Regions from separate parts of the Homo sapiens genome. Here all the other regions are linked to region 1. Evidence: promoter capture Hi-C in human tissues and cell types (Jung and others, 2019). All regions are on one chromosome and are shown on one strand. The core of a region is centred on a gene start or on the middle of the fragment in contact, and the rest is flanking DNA. Distances in the headings are between cores, read along the strand shown.

Region 1 (2,784 bases), core at 133-2,632:
TTCTTCCCAGAAATGTCCTTGCTTTTCGCATCTACAAACGCTTCCTGCAGCACTTCTCGGAAAACCCTCGGGGACGGGCCTGGGGGGCATCCAGCGGGCTGGGGGCACGAGCCGCTGTGGGAAGTGGGGGTGGCAGGAGCTCCAGGGCCGGCGTGCACGTTGTCTGTGGCCGGGAGCGGACACTGAGAGGGCGCAGCGAAGAGCACCCCTCCCCCGCCACTCTTTCCCTCCCTCGGGATGCACAGAGAAACGGGGGCCGCCCGACCCCTGATTTCCACACCCCTCCCTAGCACCTGGGCTCCCAGACAAGGTTGGGCGGGGTCGGGCGGCGATTGCCCCCCTGCTTGGAAGGCGCAGCACCTCCCACCCTCCGGTGTTCCCTCTGCCCCAGAGGAACGGGCACCAAATCTCGGGAAACAATGAAGCCTCCGCGGCGCGCAGAGGGCACCCAGCCGCGCGCCCTGATGCGGGCCAGGGAGGCCGCGTGGGGCTGCAGCCCGGCCTCGCCCGCCCAGGCGGTCTGTCTTCGCTTCACACCACAGCGACACTGCTGCCCCTCGCCCGGCTTCGCGGTGCGGCTCCCACTCCAGCCCGGCTTTCCCCTCCTCGCCCTCCAGCTCTGGGCAGGGGCGTCCAGGGGTGCCCCGCTGCTCCCCGCCACAGGTCTCAGGATGGCGCGATGAGGAGTGGCAGGGGGTGACCCTGCGTTCCTCGCCGCCGAGGGCGCGGGCCCCGGGATTTGAAGTTGCGAGAAGCAGCCGCCACCTCCCGGGCGCTCCGCACTGCGCGGCGGCGGGATCTGCGCCTGCAGGAGCTGCCCAGCTCTCCCTCTAGGGGTGCAGAGCGAGCACGCGAGGTGGGCTGGCCAGACCCTGCGGCTGGCACTGACCTCCGCGCCCCTTCCTCCGACGCCCGCACCCACGCGACCGGGGCGCAGACTCCCAGCGCCTTCCTTCCCGCGGAGATCCCTGCAGGGTCTCTGGGAAAGACAGACAGACGGACGGGGAGAGCACTCGGAGGGAAAGTTGTTCCTCCCAGTCTCCTGTCAGGCAATTACAGGCGAGCCCAAGCGGGGAGAGGGGCGGGAGGAAGCGAGGGAAGGGCTCCGGAGTGGGGGGAGGCCGCAGGAGGGGAGGCGGGGGTGCAGTTGGTGAAACTCCTCTGTCTCCCGCTCATCTTTTCATTGCTCGTTCCCCTCCTTCCCGCAGACACCCGGACCTCCCCTGGGCGCCAGCTCCGCGGCTCCAACGGGTCCAGAAACAAGCCGGATTTTTTTTTTTTCTTCCTGGAAATTGGCTTTGGTGTGTGTTGCCCTACCTCCCTCCTCCCCCTCCCACCCACAGCCCCCCCCCGGCCTTTTTTTTTTTTTTTTTTTTTTTTGAGACATGGCCCGGGCAGTGGCTCCTGGAAGAGGAACAAGTGTGGGAAAAGGGAGAGGAAGCCGGAGCTAAATGACAGGATGCAGGCGACTTGAGACACAAAAAGAGAAGCGTTCCTCTCGGATCCAGGCATTGCCTCGCTGCTTTCTTTTCTCCAAGACGGGCTGAGGATTGTACAGCTCTAGGCGGAGTTGGGGCTCTTCGGATCGCTTAGATTCTCCTCTTTGCTGCATTTCCCCCCACGTCCTCGTTCTCCCGCGTCTGCCTGCGGACCCGGAGAAGGGAGAATGGAGAGGGGGCTGCCGCTCCTCTGCGCCGTGCTCGCCCTCGTCCTCGCCCCGGCCGGCGCTTTTCGCAACGGTAAGTGACAGGCAGAGGCGCGGGTGACAGCGGCGCCCCGGCTCCCAGCTGCCCGCCCCGGACCGGGGCTCAGGCGGGGCTTCCCGGGATCAGCCGGGAACAACCGACTCCCGGGCGAAGGAAACTTTTATCTGGGAGGAGAGAAGAAGAAATGAGATCAGGCGGTTTAGAGCAGGAGGATTTCAGGTCTTTGGGCTCCCTCCTGACGTTGATCCTTGGGCTGTGGGGCTTTTCCTTACCTCTGTTACAAGACAGAGCTGTCTACCTTCCCAGATCAGCATGCCAATTATCTTAATAATGTTTCCTCCCAAAGGCAATTAGAAGAGACTCCCTTTCAAAAATCTGATGGCTGTTGAAAGTTAATGAACACTTTACCAGGAGATCTTACTTCCTGGTTCCTTTGCTGCTCCCCTAAGCCGTTTCCTCTGGTGGGTGACGGCCAGAGATATCGGTTTGTGGGTTGATGAAACTCCCTCCCCCGCCTTTGTACACCTTCCGTAATCTGTCTGGAGTATGACTGAAAGTTACATAGTATCAATACAGGAATCTGACATATACAGTGTAAGGCACCAGGATATCTGAAAATCCCTAAGCTAGTTGCAGCTTCCACTTAGCTTTTAAAATCACTCACTGTTAAGTAAATGAAAAACTATACTGGGGTCTAAACAGTACCATGTAACCTAAATAATGTGTTTTAAAATGGGATCTGGTTGTAGGCATGTTTGACTTCACACTGTAAAGTAAGTGCAGGCAAGGGTATGCAATTATCTTTACAGTAAGTCGTCAGCAATTGTTATTAACTAATGATCAAATATTTACTTTTGTCTGGCTTAGATTTCAATCACAGTAATTAGAAGAAAAGAACATCCACTACTTACTGTGGTATATTGTTTTAATAAGAGACCGCAAGTGGAGGGCCTCATACCAACAGGAATTTAAATCACATCTTTATGATGGAAGTTAATCTCTCTAATATGCTTTTTCAAGGTTTTGTGATTTTAGCAATGGATTTCCCTCAGCAGCTACCAAGCAGTATTTTAAGAGA
Region 2 (2,784 bases), core at 169-2,668, 680 kb before region 1:
GCGGCCCAGAATGGCTTTGAATGCTGCCCAACACAAATTCATAAAGTTTCTTAAAACAGTACGAGATTGTTTTAGGATTTTTTTTTTTTTTTTTAGCTCATCAGCGATCATTAGTGTTCATGGATTTTATGTGTGGCCCAAAACAATTCTTCTTCCAATGTGGCCCAGGGAAGCCAAAAGATTGAACACCCCTACCAAGTTATTTTAAAATGTACAATTAAGCTATTATTGACAATAGTCATCCTGCTGTCCTCTCAAAGCGTGGATCTTATTCATTCTTTCTAACTCCTTTTTTTTTGTTCCCATTAACCATCCCTGGCCGCTGTATCTTAACCCCTAAAGCCCTTGTGTGCTGTTGTTGGTACCTCTGGTCACCTGCTTCTTGTGTGCCTTCTGGGTCAACTCTTCTTAGACCCAGGTCTTGCTGTCTGTCTGGTGAGAGGCCTTGGCTGGCTTCACAGTCTAGAGGACCCCTTCTCTGTAACAGTCTGTTTTCTGATTCTCTCCTCCCCATACACAGCGCCCCCTAGTTCCTGGATTCCACTCCTCCAAGCCTCAGGTGCCCCAGAGGAAGAGCAGGGCTCATGCAGGTGGGTTATTTGTTGACACAAAACTCAACAAATAACTAAAGATCCAAAAAGGTACAGTTCATGCAGATGATTATGTAGATTTGCCTTAATCCTTTTTTTTTTTTTTTTGAGATGGGGTTTCACTCTTGTTGCCCAGGCTGAAGTGCAATGGCATGATCTTGGCTCACTGCAACCTCCGCCTCCTGGGTTCAAGCAATTCTCCTGCCTCAGCCTCCCAAGTAGCTGGGATTACAGGCGCCCACCACCACACCTGGCTAATTTTTGTGTTTTTAGTAGAGACTGGGTTTCACCATGTTGGTCAGGCTGCTCTTAAACTCCTGACTTCAGGTGCTCCACCCTCCTCGGCCTCCCAAAGTGCTGGGATTACAGGCGTGAGCCACTGCACCCAGCCTCTTTTTTTTTTTTTTTCTTTCAGAAGAAAATATCCCTGGACATTTTATAGAGTTTTGTCAGCAGGATTGAGCTTATATATAGGTTAAGAAGGCAATGCTCTGTGGAATAATATGAGTGTTGGGGATAACTCACCCTATACAATAAAAATAGAAATGGAATGGCTCCAGCAGTCAGGTTGCTGAAATTCACCACATTATGCATTCCTTTGCTCTAAGGCATTGATGTTCTGTGTTAAAATGCAAATACATCATCTGAGAGGACTTAGAGAACGGGGCCATGTGTCAGAGCAGGTGTCAGCAAATTTGGCTTCAGGCCTTCCCAGCTAAGCGACTTTTCTATGAAAGCCTAGAATATTAGAGATGAAAAGAATCTTAGACCCACATTGTGATTCTCCTTACCCAGAGGAATGTTTGCAATAACAGGGCTTGCAAAGTGAGCAACCTTATTCATTTAAACATCCTTGCTTTATTGAGTCCAAGTCAGCTTTCTGGTGTCTCCCATGAGATTCCCACCTCTTCTCTTTTCTAACGGAGGCCCCCTTGATCCCTTCAACTTTCCTTCTCATCCTTTGCTGCTGGTTCCCCCACATGTTTGTTTCTTTTAAATGGAAGCAACCAGAAGGTTCCCAGTTCCCACCATAGATGCCCTGAGCGGCAGCCTCACACCTCCAGATAGACACAAGAGGCATGTCATATTTTCATTCCTTTTTAGTTAAGATCAACTAAAGCCATAAATCTTTTCCTGGTGAGCTGTTATTTAAGTCACCCCTCTCCCTTCTCGTAGAGGAGCAGGTTTTGACACCCTGCCCCCACTACCCGGGGCAGGATTTTAAATGTACCTCAAATACCTTTATCTTCCTTGATGTTTGCTAGGGACAAATATTTCAGAATCTGTTTTCTCATCTTCAAAATGGTAATGGTCATCCCTCTTCTGTCCACTATGCTTTTCAGCAGCAAGACTCCAGCGGTGAGATGTGGGTGCCACCAGTGCACTGTGGAGGGTGTGGGGACCTGCTGCAATGGAGCTCCAAGCCACTGGCTGTGGCTTCCTGAAGTGCTGTATTGACCTCTATTTAGACCTAGCTGGAAAGAGAATGGTGACTAATTTGTGATGTCTGCTGTGATGTGTGAGTGTATGTGTGTGCACACAGCATCATTCTTGACACAGATTTGTCATACTATACCCATGCAGGAAATATTATCATTATTAATTCATTAACATTTGAATACGTATTAATCACCCAGCTTGCATTAGAAGGCAGGTACATTTTGGTGAGACAGGAGCAGGGCACATCACATGGAAGGATTTTTCAGCAGAGCCCTGAGGGCATTGTGGGGTAAATGTGAAGATGAGGGCTGTTATGAAAGGAAGACAAGGAAGGCCATGATCCAATTAGTTCACCCCTCACATTTTTTTTTTGAGATAGGTTCTTCTCTGTTGCCCAGACTGGAGTATAGTGGTGTGATCTTGGCTCACTGCAACCTCTGCCTCCCAAGTAGCTGGGACCACAGATATGTACCACCATGCCTGGCTAATTTCTTGTGTTTTTTTGTTGTTTTTTTTTTTGTAGAGATATGGTCTCTCTGTGTTGCCCAGGCTGGTCTCAAACTCTTGAACTCAAGCAGTTCTCCCACCTTGGCCTCCCAGAGTGCTGGGATTACAGACATGAGCCACCATGTCCAACGTACCCCTCAAACTTGATTCTAGGAGCAGTCCCAGGCTAGAAACAAGGGTTGACATAGGATCTACAGACCACCCTTATGAGGACCTTAGACCAGGGGTTGCAAACTCTAACACCTAC
Region 3 (2,784 bases), core at 190-2,689, 640 kb before region 1:
TTAACGCCAAACCCACTTTGTGTGGTTCCCTTTAATTCAAATACTTGCATTCTACAGAGAATAAAATTTTAATCTGTGGGATCTTCCTGGTGTCCAGGAATTTTGCTGATGATGACATATACTGTGGCAGGGAAAGTGATGAAGAGACACCCTCAGAGCATGGTGCATGGACTGTGTGCTGGCTGAAACACAGGGTATAAGGACTTGGGTTGAGGAATCAAAGTGCCTACTTTGGCTTTTAGCTAAAAGTACCATCTTCCAGGGGCAAGGAGAAAATGCGGTGATTATGGGATGATTTTTCAGAGTTGAAATCAAATTAAATGGTTTTTGGGAATGAGTCTTTTTGGCTTAAAAAGATTAAAAGGCATTTATTTTACTATAAAACACAAGTTTCGTTCCCCCTTTGAGTTAATTACTGGCTCTATCCTTTACAAAATGGACTACACTGCAATGGTATGGCAAAGCAAGCTGGATTTCTGTCACTGGTGTGGTAAACACGGTCCCCGTCCCCAATTGCAGACTAGCATAATGCTAAGTGCTACTTAAACGTGATCTAAGATGGGTTGATTTCATTGCTCTTAATCAGATGTCAGGAACCAGGAATAAACATAAAAATGAAGTTTGCCAGAGGAAAAAAAATCTGCCAGTTACCCTCAGTGAGGTGAAAATTGTCATCATTTAAAGCCATCTTCACTTACATATCACATTTCCAAAAAGGCTGCTTGGATTCTCATTCCCATTTTCCACGGGCCTCCAAAGACAGCTTTGAACCATATTTAATTGTTTGTTCTTACCCCCAGTCTTTGTCTTTTGCTTAAACTGCTTTCTGAAACTGATGATGCTAACACATGTTCACTTGTTCTGGTCTCTGCTTTCTTCCTGGATATAGTCTCCAAAAATTTGCTTCTCCTCTATATTTCAGACATTTTTCTTCCAACTGTTCTTACACACTAGCCAATGCTTTTTAACTAAAGTGACTTTAGAACGTTTCTTCTGCATTCAACAGATGGTATAGGACTATTGCCTTAGCTGTCTCTGTGGTTGGGTAGGGGGAGATGCATTTGCCGAAGGAGCAGGGGTAGAGGGAGGCAGAAGATTCTAGAGTCATGAAGAATGGTGTTGGGATCCTTGGGTGTGGGGGGAGAGGAGAAGGAGGTAAAATTGGAGAGAAAATGGATGGTTTAGTACTTATTTAGGCATTTTCTGTTTTAACCAACAGACTCACTCAAGATAGATGCCGACTAGAATTGGAGCCTTGGACTTGGAGATAGATCAAGGATCTGACGACTCTCTCTGCCCTCTTTGGATCAATGCAGTCTCTTTGTCATGATGTATTTCCTTGTTTTGTTCTATTCTACTTGGATACAAACTGACCGTTCTCTGTATGCCCAGTTTGAATCCCAAGAAAGCCACTTTGGTTAGCAATTTACTACTGACCCGGTTGGCCAGTGCTACACCTGGCACAAACCTGGGCCCTGGATGGACTGCCTGTGGGACGCCTCTGTCTGTCCTAACAATGTCTGTTCCCAGGCAAAGCACAGCATGAGAGCTGTGCTACTGAGCGGGAGTGGAGGCTGCAAGGGAGCTGCACATAGGAGTTAGCTGTGATGGGCTCCATTAATACCTCAACCCTATTCAGTTCTGTATGGATGCGTGATGTATTCAACAAAACAAAGAACTGAGAGAACACAGGCCTTAGAGTATTTTAATCAAAGGAGCAAACGTTGGAAATATTGGCAATGAAAGAGGTGAGGAATCTGTTGAGGCATCTTTCAGAAGAGGTAAAGATAGTTGGATGGACAGGTTGATATAGACCAAACTGGGGCTGAGTACTTAAGGCAAGTTTTAGAGGTCAAGAAAGGAGATGTATTTGGAGCAAGAAAGGGGCTTGGAGACCAGGAGCAAAGGGATGTACATTTTTCTCCACTTCTTTTTTGCAGTGCACATGGATAATTTGGTGTATACTGAATTCTTTGCCATGAATTCCCACAGGAGCAGGTGATTTCTTCTTGCCTTACAACAGTCTTTCACAGAAATATTGGAGAGAGAATATTTTTCCCTCTCAGTATCTCAAGGGCTTGAGGCTGCATTCTCTGCAGGAGATTGAGGAAGGGATGGAAGAGATTTTCATGGGTGGACCATTTTAATCCTTTTCCTTGGTACTGAGACTTGAGTCATCTCCATGACCTCTTAGCGGGTGGGTCTTTCTCTAGGTTGGAGCTGTGTTTCACACTGACTCCCTGACTTGCTCCCAAATCAGAAAAAATCTTTCCTAATGAAGAAGTACTAAAGCATTAACCAAGCTGCCACAGGTAACTAGAGTCATTGTTAGATACACAGTCAGTTTATTAATATACAAAACCCCTAGATCTTAATCTGAGTGCAACTTGAATTGGAAAAAAAAGGATTTGAGTTTGAAGATTATATGTCTTTTTGTCTCTGAAGAATATTCTGGGAATGATATTTGTGTAGAGAGAAGAAAAATATTTCATTAAAAATTTACTCTGTACATGAAAACTGAATTCCACATGAACAAAATATGATCTTTGCACAGTATATTATTTGCAGGCACTGACATTTCGGTTTCCTCAGAAACAGGTGAGCTTTGTTTTGTGCTCTATAGAGCCATATGTGCAGGTGGATTCTTAATAGGTGTTCTTTGGTGAGGAGCTCTCACTAAGTGTGTGACTGAATGGACTTACTTTCTCTATATTAAAATGCAGAGTTGTAATATGGGTAATTTTTACTCCCTCTCAATCAATTGATAAGTTGCTTTATATGTTC
Region 4 (2,784 bases), core at 200-2,699, 560 kb before region 1:
GTGAAATGATCGTTCTTCTGTTTGTGGTTTTCCAAATCTTTTTTCCTAACTCACATACAAAAACTCCTTTTAATTCATAAACATATAATTCATTAACTAATTACTTTTTGCTGTATGCTTAATATAGAGAAAAGAAGTGTTCATTTTTCACAGCAAAAATTAAAGGATTATTATTTTTTTTGCAGTGCTTTTTTTGTTTTCTGACCCCAGTATTGATTCTGGGGTAAACTCTGCCATTTCCCCTGGACTGGTAAAATAACCTTCTAGGTTGGCCAAAGGGTCTGGAGCAGGTCCAAATGACCTTTTTTTCCTCTCATCCTGCCACACATCACACACACCATATTTATGTTGGCTCTAGGATTTGGAAAATATTTTGTTTTTTAATCCTATTGTCTTCTGTTGCAATTCTTCTTAGAAAAAAATTAGCAGGAGGGCCAAAGCTAAAAACATGAGTCTCTTAAGAAAGTTCCTTAAAGTAGTATAAATGCTGTGATTTGAACTATGTATTCACAAAGTTCAGAAACTTTCTTTTGGTTGTTACTGGAGAACTTTTCTCAATGTATGGGACGTCAGCTTTTGGAATCTCACCTTGCAGGTAAGGAAAGCTGGATCATAAAGCTTTAGGAGCTGACTCATGGAGTCCTGAGACTTCACATGGCCAGTTCAATGTGGTTTTGTTTGTAATCACGTCGTCCCTTTGCCCTGTTGGACAAATTTATTTATTTGACAAAGTAAAATTAAAATCAGAAAAGCTCATTGTTTCCTAATTTTAAGTTCAAATGAGGGAGGTTTCTGAAGGGTGGGAAATTATTTCCCTCCTTTGCAATGATGATGGGTCATGTTTCAAAGCAAAGCTCTGTAAGGAACATAGTGCACTTTTTTGTTTACTTTGCCTTTTCCCACAGCACAGAACTGCACCCTTTATTATTACTGTCATAGTTGGCTGAAGAAGAGCTGTCTGTCCAACTGGAGGATGCTCTCTGAAGATCTGTTCCATACAACGTTCTGCTCTAGCAAAATCGTCCAACAAGAAGAAGTTTATATTTAAACAATGTCATCTCTACCACATATACATGTATCTCACTTGAAGTTTTTAAAATTAAGACATTGTCTGTGCTAATGCTTTTTAAAATATGGCCCCACATTATTTCAATTCTATAAGTTTCTCACTTTAAAAGTGATTAACCCCTAAGAGAAGGGAGAAAGGGCATCGTAGCCAGGAGGGAGCAGTGGAAACTTCCTCTCTCCCATGCCAGGCCCTCAAGGTAAGGGCCCCAGAATAGATTTGACCTCTGCTGCATTTCCAAGGCCTTAGAAACTTCTTCCTTAGCTCAAAGCTTCCCTTTGGTTGTTTCCAAAAATGTGATGAGGGCAGGGAAGGAGATCAAAGACTGAGGGATGAAAGGTTGGAGATGGGCCTCTGGGTAGGAGAAGAGGGGTAGTGCCTTTGCAGGATGTGAATGGAAAGCATGAATAGAGATATTTTTGTTGGATAAAAGAAGTGATCACCAAGTTTTCTTCAGTTAATCAATACATAAACCATAACAAGCAATGCTAAATCTGACATGGAGTGAAAGTGTTACTGACACACCAGGAGTTTGGTCTAGGTCCTGCTGCTGGCTGCACAGGAAGCAAATCACTGAGACAATGAGGACTGCCAGGGAAGAAGGATTTAATAGGGTGCTGCAGCTGAGGAGCTGGGAGCTCAGTCTCAAATCCATCTCCTTGACCAACTACAAGTAGGGGTTTATATAGCAGGGATAAAATATAACTATATACAGGTAAACAAGAATTACAGAGGGGTAAGAAAATAATGAGGGACCCGGCACAGTCCCAGTACTTTGGAAAGCTGAGGTGGGTGGATAGCTTGAGGCCAGGAGTTGGAGACCAGCTTGGCCAATATGGCAAAACCCCATCTCTACTAAAAATACAAAAAATTAGCCAGGCGTGATGGCAGGCGCCTGTAACCCCAGCTACTTGGGAAGGTGAGGCAGGAGAATCGCTTGAACCAGGGAGGTGGAGGTTGCAGTGAGCTGAGACTGCACCACTGCACTCCAGCCTGGGCAACAGAGCAAGACTCTGTCTCAAAAAAAAAAGAAAAAAAAAGAGGGATGAGGGTTCTGGCTTCTTATGGTCTGCATGTGGTGATCTGGTGAGCTTCAGTTCCTTGATACCATCTGGGAGGACTGAGAGTAGGTTTCCTGAGGGGGGAACTCACATAAGATGAATGCAAGTTTCAAGCTTTAAGACCAGGAGGGCCAATTTCTATGTTCATTTAATGAGACTGAAACATCAGTTCTGTGGGACAATTGGGCTGGTTTCAAAAGTCTACCACTTGCTTTTCCAACACAAGCATGTTGACTCTCTTCTTTAAAGCAACTTGATAAGGTAGACTTTCCTGTGCAAGAAAACTTTCCTATTTACAGATGGCCTGGCTCACTAGCTAAGAGGCATTCTAAACAAATGTATTCACCTTACCCACAGTTTTAGGAGGTAGCAAGAAACAAATTAACATCAGAGCACTCCGAACCCCTTTATTTAATAGTTAAAGACCTTGGAGGGCTTTGGCCAGGGACAGTGATACTCTCCAAGTCAAGTGTCACCAGCTGACCCCACTCCCCATGCCTAGCCGCCTTTCATGAAGCACTTTTGGTCTTTCCAGCACTAGAAACATGCCCATACTTATTTCAAGAGGTTGACAGTTTGGTCATTAAATTAATCCTACCACCACCCTTTGCTGTAGGGCTTCAGCAAGAGCATATTAAATGTATACACCTTGTTCCT

The links. The method cuts DNA at HindIII sites, captures the fragments that hold promoters and counts their contacts. A contact is called where the count stands out against the background at its distance.
Region 2: a fragment that was not itself captured here is called in contact with the fragment with the promoter of NRP1 in region 1 in 1 of the 25 tissues and cell types used here (dorsolateral prefrontal cortex).
Region 3: a contact is called between a fragment that was not itself captured here and the fragment with the promoter of NRP1 in region 1, in 1 of the 25 tissues and cell types used here (mesenchymal stem cells).
Region 4: a fragment that was not itself captured here is called in contact with the fragment with the promoter of NRP1 in region 1 in 1 of the 25 tissues and cell types used here (aorta).

The regions. Positions count from the first base shown.
Region 1 is chr10:33,333,265-33,336,048 of GRCh38, reverse strand. NRP1 (neuropilin 1) reads left to right here and starts at 1,382. Exons shown (of 17, transcript NM_003873.7): 1 at 1,382-1,739. The coding sequence starts at 1,667. The HindIII fragment of the contact is 10,676 bases long and covers 1-2,784 here.
Region 2 is chr10:34,015,228-34,018,011 of GRCh38, reverse strand. No RefSeq gene overlaps it. Among named protein-coding and RNA genes, the nearest start is that of LINC02629, 110 kb to the right of the region's middle. The HindIII fragment of the contact is 3,714 bases long and covers 1-2,784 here.
Region 3 is chr10:33,978,142-33,980,925 of GRCh38, reverse strand. No RefSeq gene overlaps it. Among named protein-coding and RNA genes, the nearest start is that of LINC02629, 75 kb to the right of the region's middle. The HindIII fragment of the contact is 8,076 bases long and covers 1-2,784 here.
Region 4 is chr10:33,897,880-33,900,663 of GRCh38, reverse strand. No RefSeq gene overlaps it. Among named protein-coding and RNA genes, the nearest start is that of LINC02629, 4.9 kb to the left of the region's middle. The HindIII fragment of the contact is 4,892 bases long and covers 1-2,784 here.